4 separate regions of the Homo sapiens genome follow, and regions 1, 2 and 3 are each linked to region 4. Evidence: promoter capture Hi-C in 16 types of primary human blood cells and fetal thymus (Javierre and others, 2016). All regions are on one chromosome and are shown on one strand. Each heading gives the region's core, a stretch centred on a gene start or on the middle of the fragment in contact. The rest is flanking DNA. Distances are from core to core; before and after follow the strand shown. Region 1 has its middle 4.9 kb from the start of MICAL2. Region 2 overlaps MICAL2 (microtubule associated monooxygenase, calponin and LIM domain containing 2). Region 3 holds the start of COPB1 (coat protein complex I subunit beta 1). Region 4 holds the start of BMAL1 (basic helix-loop-helix ARNT like 1).

Region 1 (3,255 bases), core at 354-2,853, 1.2 Mb before region 4:
GCACCAGTTCAACTGGGCATGTGACCCACTCCAATCCGATGAAGCTCAGGACCATGCTTGGAATGCTGGGCCAGAAATATTCTTTTGGATAAGGAAGCGTGTGGCAATGAGAGCAATGACACTTGCTACCATGAGGAAAACCAGTCTGAAGAGAAGCTGACAGAGAGGAGGGCAGAGCTGAGACAACTGCAGAGTAAGGTGGCTGGAGCTTTCACCCCTGCAGTCTTCAGTTATAGGAGTTTCTTTCTCTCTTTCTCTTCTTGTGGTCAGGTTTCCTCCATTGCACCTGGCACACAATTCTTGGTAGCCCTAAGTTTCATGGAAAGAGAGCCTCTCTCACTGTGTATCTACACACTGGTCTTAACGAATTCTGCTTGGACCAGGCGCTTGGCTGTTGGACTGTTCACCATGGGGGCTTGATGTTTCACCAGGCCTGGGAACTGTGTCCAGTTCTGTAGCCAGGAGGGCAGGGATGTTACCAAAACAAGGAGGAATGGAGGAGCTGGCCAGTTCATTCCCTCCTCCACATACAACAACTAGCTTCCACAGTCCCCTGTGTGGTTCTTGCCACCTCTCTAGCTTCATCTTGGATTACTTTCATGTTCTATTCCCTGCTGCATCCCCTCCACTAAGAATAATGCATGGAAGATGGCAGGCACTCAGTCAGCATCTGCTCAATGAATGAAGGAAGGAATCTCTTGCAGTTCCTGGCTCTGCCCCTCATCCCTGATTCCGTGTTTCAGTTGCTGCCTGTCCTGAGCGCTCACCATACTCCTTCCCATCTGCCTGCCACTCATCTCTCAAGGCTCAGTGGAAGGGATGCCACCTCTGTGAAGTCTTCCCACTCCCCTCAGCCTCCTCGCTGTCCCCCAGCACCCCAGATAGATCTGGGGAGGCAGTATTGGGAATTGTAAAGAGCACGGGCTTGGAAGTCCACCAATTCGATTCATTTTGCCAGATGCTGGCCCCTAGGAGACTCTGGGCCAGTGATTTCACTTCTCCAAAATCCCATTTTCTCATCTCTAAGGAGTGGATGAAAATAGTACCTGCCTTTATAACATACACACAAGTCTGAGGCTGGGGACTAGGCAAGTCCCTGACCAGGAGTTGCTTACAGAATTGATGCCTCCTACAGACTCTAGTTCTCCATACCCTTAGTGGTATCATCACCAAGTATATTTACTCACAAACCCTTACATATGATTTATTATGTGCCTGGCGCTGTTCTAGCATGCATCTCCCCATTACTATTCCCCTACTACCTGCTGCACAAGGAGGTTAACTCCCTTGCTCAAGGTCACACAGTTAATAAGTGGCAGAACTGGGATTCAAACCCAGTCATCTTGACTTCAGAGTCTGTCCTATTAATAGCTTGGCTATGACACCTCCAGCCTAACTGCACTGTACATATTTCTGGGGTGGACACATGATGGGTGGATAGACAGATGAACTTGATTGAGTTCCCTCCTTGGACTAGAACAGAGAAGAATATTCCTGTCCTTGCCTCTAGCCAGCTGTTCTGGGAAGGGTTTGGAAGTACAAGTTGAAAGCTGTCTCCCAAGATCCATCAGTTACAGCAGTTCTGGAATGGGCTTCGGGTTTATGTGGACAGGAATCTGCCCAGGCTGCAGGTGTGGCCCAGCCTGCCATGAGGGTGCTCTGGGTTTTGTGGCATCAGTTGATCTCTAGAGGTCAGAATTATGTTATGCCCCTGGAATTCACAATTGTCTGTGAATCCCCAGTCTATCTGGGGCTAAAGCTAGACTACTTACATGACCCTATGTTTCTTCCCCTCTCTTCTGCACACCCACTCCATCGCTGTTTGCTCTGGTTGCTACATCTGGCTGGGATGTCACCTCCTGCCTGCAGCCACAGCTCTTTGCTCTCCAGCACTGACTTTCTCACCATTGCTGGCAACGTGCACACATTCACCAAAGTGCTGGGGTGCCTCCGAGGGCATTACTGACTTCAGCAGGTCCCAGACAGGTGCCATTTTTCTCTAAACCACCTCTGGAAAAGCCACTTAAAGCGAGGTAGGCCTGATGAGTTTTTAGTGACCTTGAAAACTTTTAGATGTTTTATCCGTGAACAAGCGGTTTGTTCTGAGGACTATAAAGATGATGAAGAGCTTGAACAAGGCCCCAGGGATCTTGCTTCTCACATACTGCTGAGTCTGTCTGTGGGAGATACAAATGTTTCCACTTCCTGGCTTAGAAAGTCCTCCAAGGACAGCTCCCAAGGTGCCCGGGGCCAATCAGCCCTTTCTCATCATTTAACCAGGTCACTGGACTCTGTCTAGATACCAGCCTTCCTCTTCCTTCCGAAAGACCAAAGCACTTTGATAGCAGCTTGGGGAGGAAGCCAGTGAGAACCACACTCACTGTTTTGCCCTTCTCTGGAATCTATGGCCTTCAGGAAGAGATCCAGAGCCCGGTGCAACTGTCTTCTCTGCCATTCAAATATCTTGAGGGGCACCCTGGCTTCATTACAGAAAATCTCCATCAGGAGTCCACTTAGTTCAACTCTGACCTCTCTTCAAGCATATTGCTAGGCTGGAAATAAAAGGAAGCCAGAACTGCCACCCCCACAGTCCTCTGAACACAATCAGGTGGATAAACGATGATGCCCGCGAGCACCAGCTGGGTTCTTTCAGGGGGAGGCATGCATAGTGCTGTGGAGGCCATTGCTTCCGTCTGAGATGAAGCTATATTTAGGGATGAATCTGGGCCTTCCTTCTCTTCCTCCCTCTCGTGCTAAGTGGCCATCTGCATCTCCCAGACAACCTCCACAAGCAGCATCCTGGAAAAGTGGCCTGGGGAAGAGGTGGCTATTAAATATAGACTATTGAGCCTGCTTCATAAAGATATTGAGTTAGTTTGCCTGTCATGCTAAGAGTGAGAAAGGGACATTGCATGCCTGGAACACACTTATTCACTCACTCTGTGACCATCAGAAGCATCCTTCTATCTCTGGGCCTCCATTTCTTTCCTTTTCTTTTCTTTCTTTTTTTTTTTTTTTTTTTGTTGTTGTTGTTGAGATGGAGTTTTGCTCTTGTCGCACAGGCTGGAGTGCAGTGGTGCGATCTCGGCTCACTGCAACTTCCACCTCCTGGATTCAAGTGATTCTCCTGCCTCAGCCTCCTGAGTAGCTGGGATTACAGATGCACACCACAATGCCCAGCTAATTTTTGTATTTTTAGTAGAGATGGGGTTTCACCATGTTGGCCAGGCTGGTCTCAAACTCCTAGCCTCAGGT
Region 2 (3,600 bases), core at 740-3,239, 1.1 Mb before region 4:
CTGGTGCTCAAAGCGTGCACCTGAGCCTCATGTTGGTTTTCTGCTGTCAGTCACTTAAAACTTACACCATGGTTTTTTCCTCTTGTGAACTCCAGTATTTAAGGAGATTGGAAGCTCTGAATCTCTGGGTTTGCCTGGAAGAAGTATGTACTTTGCTTTGCCAGACCTGAGATGCTTTACAAATCATCTCGTCTGCCCAGTTCAGTGGAGTGAGATTAGAATAGGTCTAACATCCTTTGAAAACATAGGCCCATGGTGAGGTTTGCAGGTAACTGAGATCACAGCTGGCTCTGAAGAAAAAATGCAGCCTCTTGGGAGTGGCCAGTCCAGGTACCTATAATTGAGGAAGTGACCTGATTGGGGAGGTGACTTATTTACCCTGGGCAATTAAGAAGCATTTATTGAACACCTACTATGTGCCCTAGGCTCTGTGCTGTGGGGATGACAAGATGCATAAGGCTCAACTTCTCCTCCTAAAGTATTTACAGTGGGCTTGGGAAAGCAAGGCTTATGTGTGTAAAAAAAAAAAAAAAATTAAGTAACAGGAGATTTTCGCAACAGTTCAGCTCAATCATAGAAGAAAAACCACAAGGTAGTTCATGACTAATGTCCATCTGCCTGAAGGAGGCAGCGGTGGGTGTGGGGAGTGTTTTCTGTGGGCTAGGGAGGGCCTGGAAAGCTTCCTGGAGGAGGGAGCAGAGGTGGCGGCAGCAGCAGCATTTGATCTGGATCCTGATGGGTAGTTGCAGTGCAGATGGATAAGTTGGGAGTAAGAAGAGAGCATCTCTAGTGGGTGTTGAGGCCAAGAGAAATGGGGAATTGCCTGCTTTGAAGGTGGGCAGCGGGAAATGAGGCTAGGCAGGTGAGTTTAGGACAGATGCAAAGAGGCTTTAATGAGAGAGAGATTGAGTTGGAGTGTGTTTAACTTCAGAACAGGGATGGGAGGATGAAGGCCCAGGGTCTCACAGGGAACTCTTGTAAATCTCAGGAAGATAGGCAAGAAAGGGTCTAGCTCCAGGACATTTCAGTCTAGGCATCTCTAGCCTCCAGCCTCCTGGAGCCATTCTTTCACCATTGCTCTATGGGGACATTTTCTTCTTAGGCATTTTACATGTCTGCTCATTCATTCATTCAGCAGGTATTTATGAGCTCTTACTCTGTGGCAGGCACTGCTCTCAGTGCTGGGTTGCAGCAGGGAAAAAAACAAAACAAGATAACATCCCTTGCCACATTCCCAGAAGGGGAGAGGGACAATAAACAAGTGAGCTAAATGCGTGGGAGGCCAGGTGATGAGAGGTATGGTGGAGAAAATCAAAGCAGGGAAGGAGATGGTGTGTGCTGCATGGAGAGGGGAGCAGCTCGGGGAGGGCTGTAATTTTAAACAGAGTGGTTAGAGAAGGTTTCACTGACTCACCCTGTCACTGGGACTTTGGGAGCACAGGGAAGGAGGCAAGGCCAGATCCTACTGGGATCTTGAGCCCACAGTTGATCCTCTTCGACCTGTTGGGGGTCTTTGACTAGGCAGTAGGGAGTCTTTGAGTGCTCTTGAGCAGAGGAGTGACATGTGTGGGGAGATCTCCCTAGTGGCTTTGTAGGGGATAGGATATTGGCGGCTGAGACAGGGGAGCAGAGATTCAGGAGGAGATGACCACTGTAGACTAAAAAAGTCTACTCATTTGACACTTTCCTCACTGTGCTGCAAGCTCCACATCTGTAAATGGAGATAAAATGGTACTTACCATTTCAGGCACGTTTTCAAGAGGATGAAGTGGGTTACTGAATGTAGAATACTTAGACTAGCACCTGACATATAATAAGTGCCTAAAAATATTGTCTTGCTCTACTATCTGTCCCTCTGTCTGCATATACGTATGTGTGTGTAAAATTAATGTGTTAGGGACATCCTTTCTTGTCCTGAAGCCAAGTCAAATGAAGAAAATAATGGCGCTTTTCAGGATTAAATGAGATCATCCATGTTGTGGGTGTAGGTTAGTGGCAGATGAAAACCAGGTGAATACTAGTTAAAAGTACTACTGTTACCACCAGATCTTACCTTGAAGAAAATGATTTTGCAATGGAAATCCTTTGTAAAGTCTTCCTATTTAACAGTTGTTTATCAAGACTGCAACATGCCAGGTGCTGCACTAGACACATCCCATTTCATCTTTGCAATAACTGCCCAAGATAATAAGTGTTAACCACATCTTACAGATGAGGAAGCAGAAGCCCTGGACTAAGACTTGACAAGGTCACATAGCTGGTAAATGGCAGAGCTGGGATTAATCCATGAGTGTTCCATTGTGTAAATGTAAACATTGACATATAGGTTCTCATATCAGTCTCCCTTGGTATTAGGTACCCACAAAGAGGTGCAGGGAGAGCAGAGGCATGGCCAATTTCCAGGACAGATCGGGGCAGTGTGAATGTAGTGGGGAAAGCATGGGTGGGAGACACTGTGGGTGAAACAGTACCTTTCTTCAATGACTCAGCCCTGCAGGCTTTATCAGAGCCTTTCAGCCACCCTCTCAGAGTCTATCTGAAACCCATTTTGGTTTCCCAAAAGGAGCAGAGCCTGACAAGTTCAAATCCTGGCTCCAGCACTTACCAGCCATGTAAGTCCAAGATAGAAGTCAATTTCTTTGTGCCTCAGTTTTGTCATCTGCAAACTTGCTTCATAGGGTTGTTATGAGAATATCAGAGAAGCTATGTCAACACTTAGAACAGTGCCTGGCCCATAGCAAGCACTCTGAAAGAGTTATTATTATGTTAACAATTCTTATATTATTTTTATATTATAGTATTATTGTAAGTGCCTTCTTAATCTCTGAGGTCAGGGTAGAATGTCCATCCTCTCTGCAGGATCATTCTGTAACACATTCTGTTTTGCCTTATTATATAGATGTGGGTGTAGGTCTCCCCTTTACAAGACCATGAATAGAATTCAATCAGCATCTTTCTAAAATCCCTGAAGACTTGTGCCTTGTCCTAGAAGCTGTCAATAGAGACTTGGGCCAAAAGAAGTGATTCTTGGTTTTCTTTTACCCTTCAAGCCACATATTCTGACCTGAAGACCCCACCTCTCAGGATTTGGAAAATGTCTGATATTTCCAAAGGTGCTTTACAGTTTGCCAAACACATTCCCATTCATATTTCATTTGGTCTTCACAGTTACCCTGTGCGGTTACTGGGTACTGTCCCCATTGAACAGGTCAGGAGACTGAGGCTCTGCAGGGTTGAATAACTTGCTCCAAAACGTGCAAGTGGAAGGTAATGAAACACGCACCCCCCTTCCTATCCCAGAAAGCTTTGTTCTGGAGTTTCAGATTGACTCTTCCCCTAAAGCCATTCATCATTTCCCCCTTAGCCCTTTTCCTAAAGAGGACTGGGAGGAGGTCATGTGGTGACCAGCCGACCTTTATACAATTCTACTCTGTTTCTTCTTCTTCTTCTTTTTTTTTTTTTTTTTTTGGTGGTCCTCAATTACGTGGACAGTTTTTCATTTGTTTTTCTCTTAATTTTATGATTCATTTATTTATATGAGACAGGGTCTCACTCTGTCACCCAGGCTGGAGAGCAGTGGTGGGATCATAGCTCACTGCA
Region 3 (3,562 bases), core at 948-3,447, 1.2 Mb after region 4:
CTATGGAGAACAGTTTGGAGGGTCCTCAAAAAACTAAAAACAGGGGTACCATACGATTCAGCAATCCGACTACTGGGTATATATCCAAAAGAAAGGAAATGAGTACATCAAAGAGATATCTGGACTCCTATGTTTGTTGCAGCACTGTTTACAACAGTCAAAACTTGAAAGCAACCTAAGTGTCCACCAACAGATAAATGTATAAAGAAAATGTGGTACATATACACAATGGAGTACTATTCAGCCATAAAAAAAGAATGAGATCTTGTCATTTGCAAAAATATGGATGGAACTGGAGGTCATTATGTTACATGAAATAAGTCAGGCATAGAAAGACAAACTTCACATGTTCTCACTTATTTGTGGAAGCTAAAAATCAAAACAAACTCACGGAGACAGAGTAAAAGGATGGTTATCAGAGGTGGGAAGGGTAGTGGTAGGGAAGTGGAGATGGTTAATGGGTACAGAAAAAATGAGTTAGACCCGATATTTGATAGCACACAGGGTAACTACAGTCAATAATAATTTAATTGGACATTTAAAAATAACTGAAAGTGTAACTGGATTGTCACACAGAAGACAAATGCTTGAAGGGATGGATACTCCATTTTTCCATGTGATAATTATGTATTGCATGCCTGTATCAAAGCATTTCATGTACCCCATAAATATATACATCTACTGTGTACCCCCAAAAATTAAACATTACAAAAAGTTCAGAAATATAGTTGTTTTCTTATTTGCAAAAATGCATAAAAAATGAAAAGGTAAACTTTTCTGGAAAATACATGTTTATTCCAGTGTTCACCTAATTGTTTGGGTGGGTAATCCAAAGAACAAAGTTCTTTTGGTTTTACAAGCTAAGTAACATGAAGTTAAGTGCACGATGGAATTAAGATATTCCAATACACATCCTCAACCTGTTGCCTAGAGAAAATAATCAGCCACATTAATATATTGAAGTCTACAAAAATTATGACATTTTGAGGAATATCTAAACTATTACAATTTCTTTAGGTTTACTAAGATAAACTGAGATGTTCTATTTCAAACAACCAATATTTAAAGAAGTTCGCATTTTTAATAAAAGGTCTATCGAAGAGATCCTAGAAAAACTTTAGACAAAAATTAAGCATTTCTAATTATAAAGGAATATGAAATATGAGTTTTTTATTTTTGTTTTTTCTTTTTTCATTTCATTCTCAAAATAATATCGAAGTTTACCTAGATCATTTTTTAAGCTAATTTCAGATGGTGGTTCTGAATCCATTGGCACGTTAATTAACGTGTAGCATACGTTCTCAGCCGCCGTCATGGTTTCTGGTTATATTATAACCAATCCTTGACACAAGATTTAAGGATGCCAGAAAATCTAGAAAAATAAACACAGACATATCATTACAAATTAAAAAAAAAAAACCCACAAACAAGTACCTATAGTGACCTTTTAAAGTATTAGAAAGGGCAGGTCAATCTATATCGTGTTCCCATAAAAATAAATTCTAGTAAAAACCACATTATCAGCTCTGGCATAAGGTATATTATCTATCACTCCCTCATCGCATCCCGGTCCAGTGTTTGAGAATGCTGTATAGCCGAATGAAGGCCCACAGAACAGTGACAGTCCCCCCAGCCACACCCCACAATGTTATGGACCGTATGGTTTTTACACAACACACAATCTGCATGCTCAAGTTAAGAGACCTTGTGCCTGAATACTCTGCCAAAACCCTAAAGCGCTTTATCGCGGTCCTTGGTGGGTTCCGACTCTATGTCCGCGGGTCCCTTAATCAACGCGCTGCACCCCCACCTCGCCCCACCCGCTTCCTCCTCCCCTTCCTCCAGCAAAGCAGCCCTAGGCCTGAAAGGGTACGCCTAGGGGTCTTGGGAGGGAAAAGACCCCCGGCCAATACAAAGGACGGGATGGAGCGTCCGACCCGGAGCTTCCTAGCCCTCCGCCCCCACCCCGACCCGCACCCCCACCCGTACCCCCACCCGGTCCCTTCTGCCAGGCCCAGACGCAAGCGGCCTAGTCGCTCCCCTTCCGCATCTTCCAGCTAGAAAGCCAGTTCTTCCGACTCTGCCCGACCCACCACGCCTCTGGGACTGGGGGCTTGTGGCCCACTACCAGGCTCCGAGGGGCAGTGGTTTGGTGCAGCCGCGGATCCGTCTACTGCGGCTCCGTCTACTCCGGCTATGAACCGCAGCAGCGGCGGCGGCGGCTCCAGAGTCCTTGGCTGACGTGGAAGGGGGTGGGGTAACGACCGAAGCCACAGCCACCTAGCACCTACGGCGACTCAGAGAGGACATGCTTTCTTTGTGCAGCGCTTGCGCGCTGCAAGTATATCCTATTTTCTTCCTCTTCTCTTGTCCAGGGTTTGATTAGGCCGCAGAGCAATGAAACCACGTATTTTCTAGTTTTCCCTGCAAGCCAAGCTCTGAGTTAAGCACTATGCTAATTTAAACGCTAACTGGAAATCGTTCCTTCTTCAGGAACAGTCAAGGGGAGAAAGTGCTTGGAGAGAGGGAAACTTTTACAGGGCTCTGTTCCCGTGAAAAAGAGCTCTGGACTAGAAAGTGGAAACCCAGTAATCCTTTTTCTTGTCCACACCCTAATAAACTGGGAAAGTAACTAATACTATTGGGAAGGTAATTCAGTTATTTTATTAATTATCACTAGATTAAAATCCATTTCAGTTCTTAACATCGCTAGTAGTTTGAATCTGCCTCTCTGCAGGTAGGGCTGGAGTTATTTGAAAATCCAAAGTCACATTGGTATAATTTCTGCTTTTTATTTAATAATGGCCTCTTTCCGTGATCCTTTCTGAGCACCCAGTAGATTAGAAAAAATTTTTATGCATAAAGGGAGACAGTCACTGTTTTAAAGGATTTTACGTATCTCCAAAGACCTGTTACAGCTGCAATCAGCCATAGTACTTTCGGTTTTGCCCATTTGAAGTTCCATAGCACGCCCCGCCCCTACACCTCCCTCTGCCCACAAAAGGGTTTTATGGCCAATTATTAATAACAAAATATCTTAAAGCTTAAGCAAAATACTGCGAATAAAAACAGATCTGACGGCAACTGCCCTAGTTAACAGGTTCATCTCAGGAAGATGGAACACCAATAGTACCTCATTTATGTAGGATCTAGCTCTTTTGAGCTTTCTCTTTTTAGAACCATCAAGCAATCTACAAATTCTTTGAGCACCCAAAATTGTATTCAAAGGCCATGTGTTGACAGCACTTTAAGAGTGCCTCTCTGATTCTGTGCATTCATTTTTTTTAATATTTAATCTTAATGGTAGAGTGACATGAATACAGAGATCCCATATACTCTTTACCTAGTTTCTCCCAATGGTAACATCTTGCATAGTTATAGTACAATATCAATTTCAGGAAATTGACAGACATAATTCACCCAGCCTTGTTCAGACTTCACTAGTTTTACATGTACTCGTTTTTATATTCACTTGTAGACAATTTTATCATGCTTATATGTGTGTAATCACCAACACAGTCGAGACAGAACAGTTCTATCACAAGGATTCTCATGCTGTCCT
Region 4 (3,235 bases), core at 1-2,500:
CCAGTCTGGGTAACAGAATTAGGCCAATTTATTTAATTCCATTTGTTCATGTATCCAGCCAACAGATATTTATGGTGCACTTGTTGGGTGCCAGCCCCGCCCCCACCACTCCACCCTACCCCAGCAGGCGCTAAAGGAGAGCTGACATGATGGATAACGAAAAAGAAGACGCTGTCCTTCTATTCAGGGAGTTTAACATCTGGAAGAGCCGGGAGTTCTTTGTGCTAAAGGCCCTCTACAAAGTGCCTGAGATGCAAAAATAAGTCACTTTCTCTGTCCTCTCAGCAACCGAGTCGCATGTCGTTATCAAATTTTTATTTTCTGTAACTGTTTCCTTCCGTCTTGCTCCGTAGACAGCTTTTTGCAGCAGAGAGCGCTGCCGCGGGGCTGGTGTCTACTCTTCAGTAAGTGGTCAAAACCTGGCTACTGGAAGGAAATGCAATGGAATCGCTCCGCGCTCGAGTATTCTCTTTGGAACTACGGGAATGACAGCTCCAGTGGGACACTTGGAGGTCATGATGAACGCAAAGAACGTGAGAACACTTGCAGTCCTCGGGGTGGAAATGCCTTCTAGAAATACTAAGTATCCGTTCTCTCGTTGAGACTTTGGCAAACCAGGGATTTTAGGAAGGGTCTGGCACTCAACGTTCCTAAAATTGGTTTCCTAGATGGAGCCGGAGGGAGAGAGGGAGTCAGGAACTGCTGCTTTTCGTCGGAATGCCCGGAGGGGAGAAGAAGAAGGAGGAGGGGTGAGGGCGGGCGGCCAAACGCCAGCCGGCAGGGGACCCAGAGAAGAGGGACATCCCGGGCGACCCCGAGGAGCGCGGCTTGGGCACCGCAGTGGCCGCGGCTAGTGGGAGACCTGAGGGGAAAGGGAGAGGGCAGGGGCGAGGAACCCAGGGAGCGCGCGCGGATTGGTCCTCTCCTCGGGGCGTGCGCTCCTGTGCGCCAAATGATTGGTGGCAGGAAAGTAGCAGGTAAACCGGCTCCCGCCGCCTCGCCATTGGTCAGCGGCCTCTCTAGCCGCCACACAACTGGCCAGCGGGCTGCCGAGCCGCGCGCGGATTGGCTGGGGGCGGCCGCCGGGACCGGCTCCCTTCGGGCGTTCGGATTGGCTGGCGGGAAGAGGCAGGTATCCGGGCGCTGCGGCTCCTCCATTGGTGGGCGGGGAAGGGGGGTTGGGCACAGCGATTGGTGGGCGGGGGGCCGGGCCTGGGCCGGCGGGGAGCGGATTGGTCGGAAAGTAGGTTAGTGGTGCGACATTTAGGGAAGGCAGAAAGTAGGTCAGGGACGGAGGTGCCTGTTTACCCGCGCCGGACTCACCGCCGCCGCCGCCGCGGGATCCGAGTGCGGGCGCGGGCGCGGGCGCTCCCGGCGAGCCACGGTGAGTGTCAGGCCGGCGGCGGCCAGCGACGCGATCCCGCGCACCCCGTCGGGGGCCGTTAGCACCCTCGCGGGCGCTGCGCCCCTGCCGCCGCCCCGGGGGCAACCCGGCCGCCGAAGAACCCTGCCCGACGTGCCCGCTGCCGGCCTTAAAGGGCCCGTGACCGCTCCCTGCCCCCACCCGGGCCGTGGGGAGGCTGCGCCCCTTAAAGGCGCCGCGCCCGTCCGCCCCCATCCTCCTCGCGGGGGCTGCCGCTGCGGGCTAGGGCAGGCAGAGGTGCTGCAGGAGCCCTTAAAGGGGCCGGGAAAGTGTTCGCTGGAGTACCCACCGCCCTTCCGCGGGCATCGCTACCTGGCGGGGGGAGGGGGCAGCTAGCTGCCTCTTAAAGGGATAGCTCTGCCCTTGGGGGCAGTGACTCGGCCGAAGAGGACTCCTAGATGTGTCCCCGGGAGCTTCGGGGATCCCCGAGGGGACCATGCCTGGTGGCTGCCCCTCAAGGGCGTTGGGCGAACGGTGCCGCGTCTGCCCTTCCTCCCCGCTTCACTTCCCTTTCGGGAGCCCGCGAGGCTGGGTGGGGGCGGGGAGGGCGTCTCCGTCGGGCTTGGGGAGTCCAAGTCCGCCCGCCCCTTCGGCCCTGTAGCCAGGGCTGGCGCTGCACCCGGGAATCCCCGGCCGGCACGGGGCCGACCCCAGCCTGCGAACTTTCGTGGGGCCTGTGCCGTCCAGGTCCTGGGCGGCCCTCAAGGATGCCCCGTGGGTCTGCGGGCAGGTGCGCGTCGGCCTGGGGATGTCGCCCGGAGCCCGGGTGCGGGCCGGCCTTGGAGTCCCAGAGCTCCGCGGAGGGCGCAGCGAGCCTGGCTCCAGCTCCGGGTTTGACAGATGTCAGGGAAGAAAAGGTTCCCGCTCGGCTATTGCCGGGCGTTGACATCCCAGAGAGCTTCCCGTTTGCTTGGAAGAAGACGAGGAAGGTAGAGGTGAACGTCGACCTTGTGGGGCGCATGTTAGCCTCCCCGAGGGGTCGCGAGAGCCGGCAGCGGGGTGAGCTCAGGTGCCCGCCGGCAGGAGCTGGGGAGGGAAGGGGAGTGCTGGACACCGGCGCCTGCTGTCAAGTTCTCGCCGGCCGGTGAGAGACCCGCTGCCGCCGCGCACCCCGCACCTCCTGACCCCTCTCCCCTCTCCGCCTCGGCCCCTTCCCGGTCACCTAGCGTTGTTTTGGCGCTTTGGCGCTTGCGGTCTCTTCCTTCTTCCACCGCTACTCCTCAGCGAGGAATTATTAGCCAAGTTTTCTCACCCAGCTTCCAAAAATCAGATTCCGTATTTGTGAACAAGCTTTTCTTGACACTACCCGTATACCCGTATTTCCAGCATCGTCGTTTTATTAAACATCCATAAAAGCTGCCCCTTAGATGCATTCATTTCCCACGACACCTGCTTGCTTGTCATTTGTCCTTCTGACATCTGCTGTTGTTCACCCCTTTAATCTATTATTAAATGACAACTATTATTTTAATTCTTCTGGTCTCATTGATATCCGGATCTGTGAATTTGGGTTGGTGGAGTTTTTAATTAATGTACCCGTTGAATCATGAGCTTAAAATAATCATTGCTGCTCCTGAGCAGTTTTGAATAATATCATGCTCTCTCTGCTTGCAAGACTTAAAAAAATTCGCTGGTGTTATATTTGATTTCCATATCAATGGAATTCCCAAATATTTTTGAAAATACAAAATTCAGTCTTTCAGTCCATGTTTTGTTACTCAGATCATTTTACTGATAAGTCTTTAACGCAGCTTATAGAACATATTTAGAAGGTTTGGAAATTTCCTGGACAGGATTTGAAATTGCCTGTAT

The links. Contacts are between HindIII fragments. The CHiCAGO score rates a contact against its expected background, and 5 or more counts as called.
Region 1: a fragment that was not itself captured here is called in contact with the fragment with the promoter of BMAL1 in region 4 in 1 of 17 cell types (fetal thymus); the score reaches 5.8 in fetal thymus.
Region 2: a fragment that was not itself captured here is called in contact with the fragment with the promoter of BMAL1 in region 4 in 1 of 17 cell types (M2 macrophages); the score reaches 5.2 in M2 macrophages.
Region 3: a contact is called between the fragment with the promoter of COPB1 here and the fragment with the promoter of BMAL1 in region 4, in 1 of 17 cell types (fetal thymus). The highest score is 6.1, in fetal thymus.

What each region holds. Positions count from the first base shown.
Region 1 is chr11:12,104,039-12,107,293 of GRCh38, forward strand. No RefSeq gene overlaps it. Among named protein-coding and RNA genes, the nearest start is that of MICAL2, 4.9 kb to the right of the region's middle. RefSeq lists an enhancer at 1-198. The HindIII fragment of the contact is 5,348 bases long and covers 1-3,255 here.
Region 2 is chr11:12,126,188-12,129,787 of GRCh38, forward strand. All of the region lies in intron 1 of MICAL2 (microtubule associated monooxygenase, calponin and LIM domain containing 2), which reads left to right. Among named protein-coding and RNA genes, the nearest start is that of MICAL2, 17 kb to the left of the region's middle. The HindIII fragment of the contact is 2,625 bases long and covers 678-3,302 here.
Region 3 is chr11:14,497,614-14,501,175 of GRCh38, forward strand. It overlaps COPB1 (coat protein complex I subunit beta 1), which reads right to left and starts at 2,198. Exons shown (of 22, transcript NM_001144061.2): 1 at 2,094-2,198; 2 at 1,225-1,372. The coding sequence starts at 1,315. RefSeq lists an enhancer at 2,320-2,419. The HindIII fragment of the contact is 3,446 bases long and covers 1-3,041 here.
Region 4 is chr11:13,276,540-13,279,774 of GRCh38, forward strand. It overlaps BMAL1 (basic helix-loop-helix ARNT like 1), which reads left to right and starts at 1,251. Exons shown (of 20, transcript NM_001297719.2): 1 at 1,251-1,384. RefSeq lists silencers at 852-1,501, 1,572-1,641, 1,922-2,261. The HindIII fragment of the contact is 3,232 bases long and covers 1-2,711 here.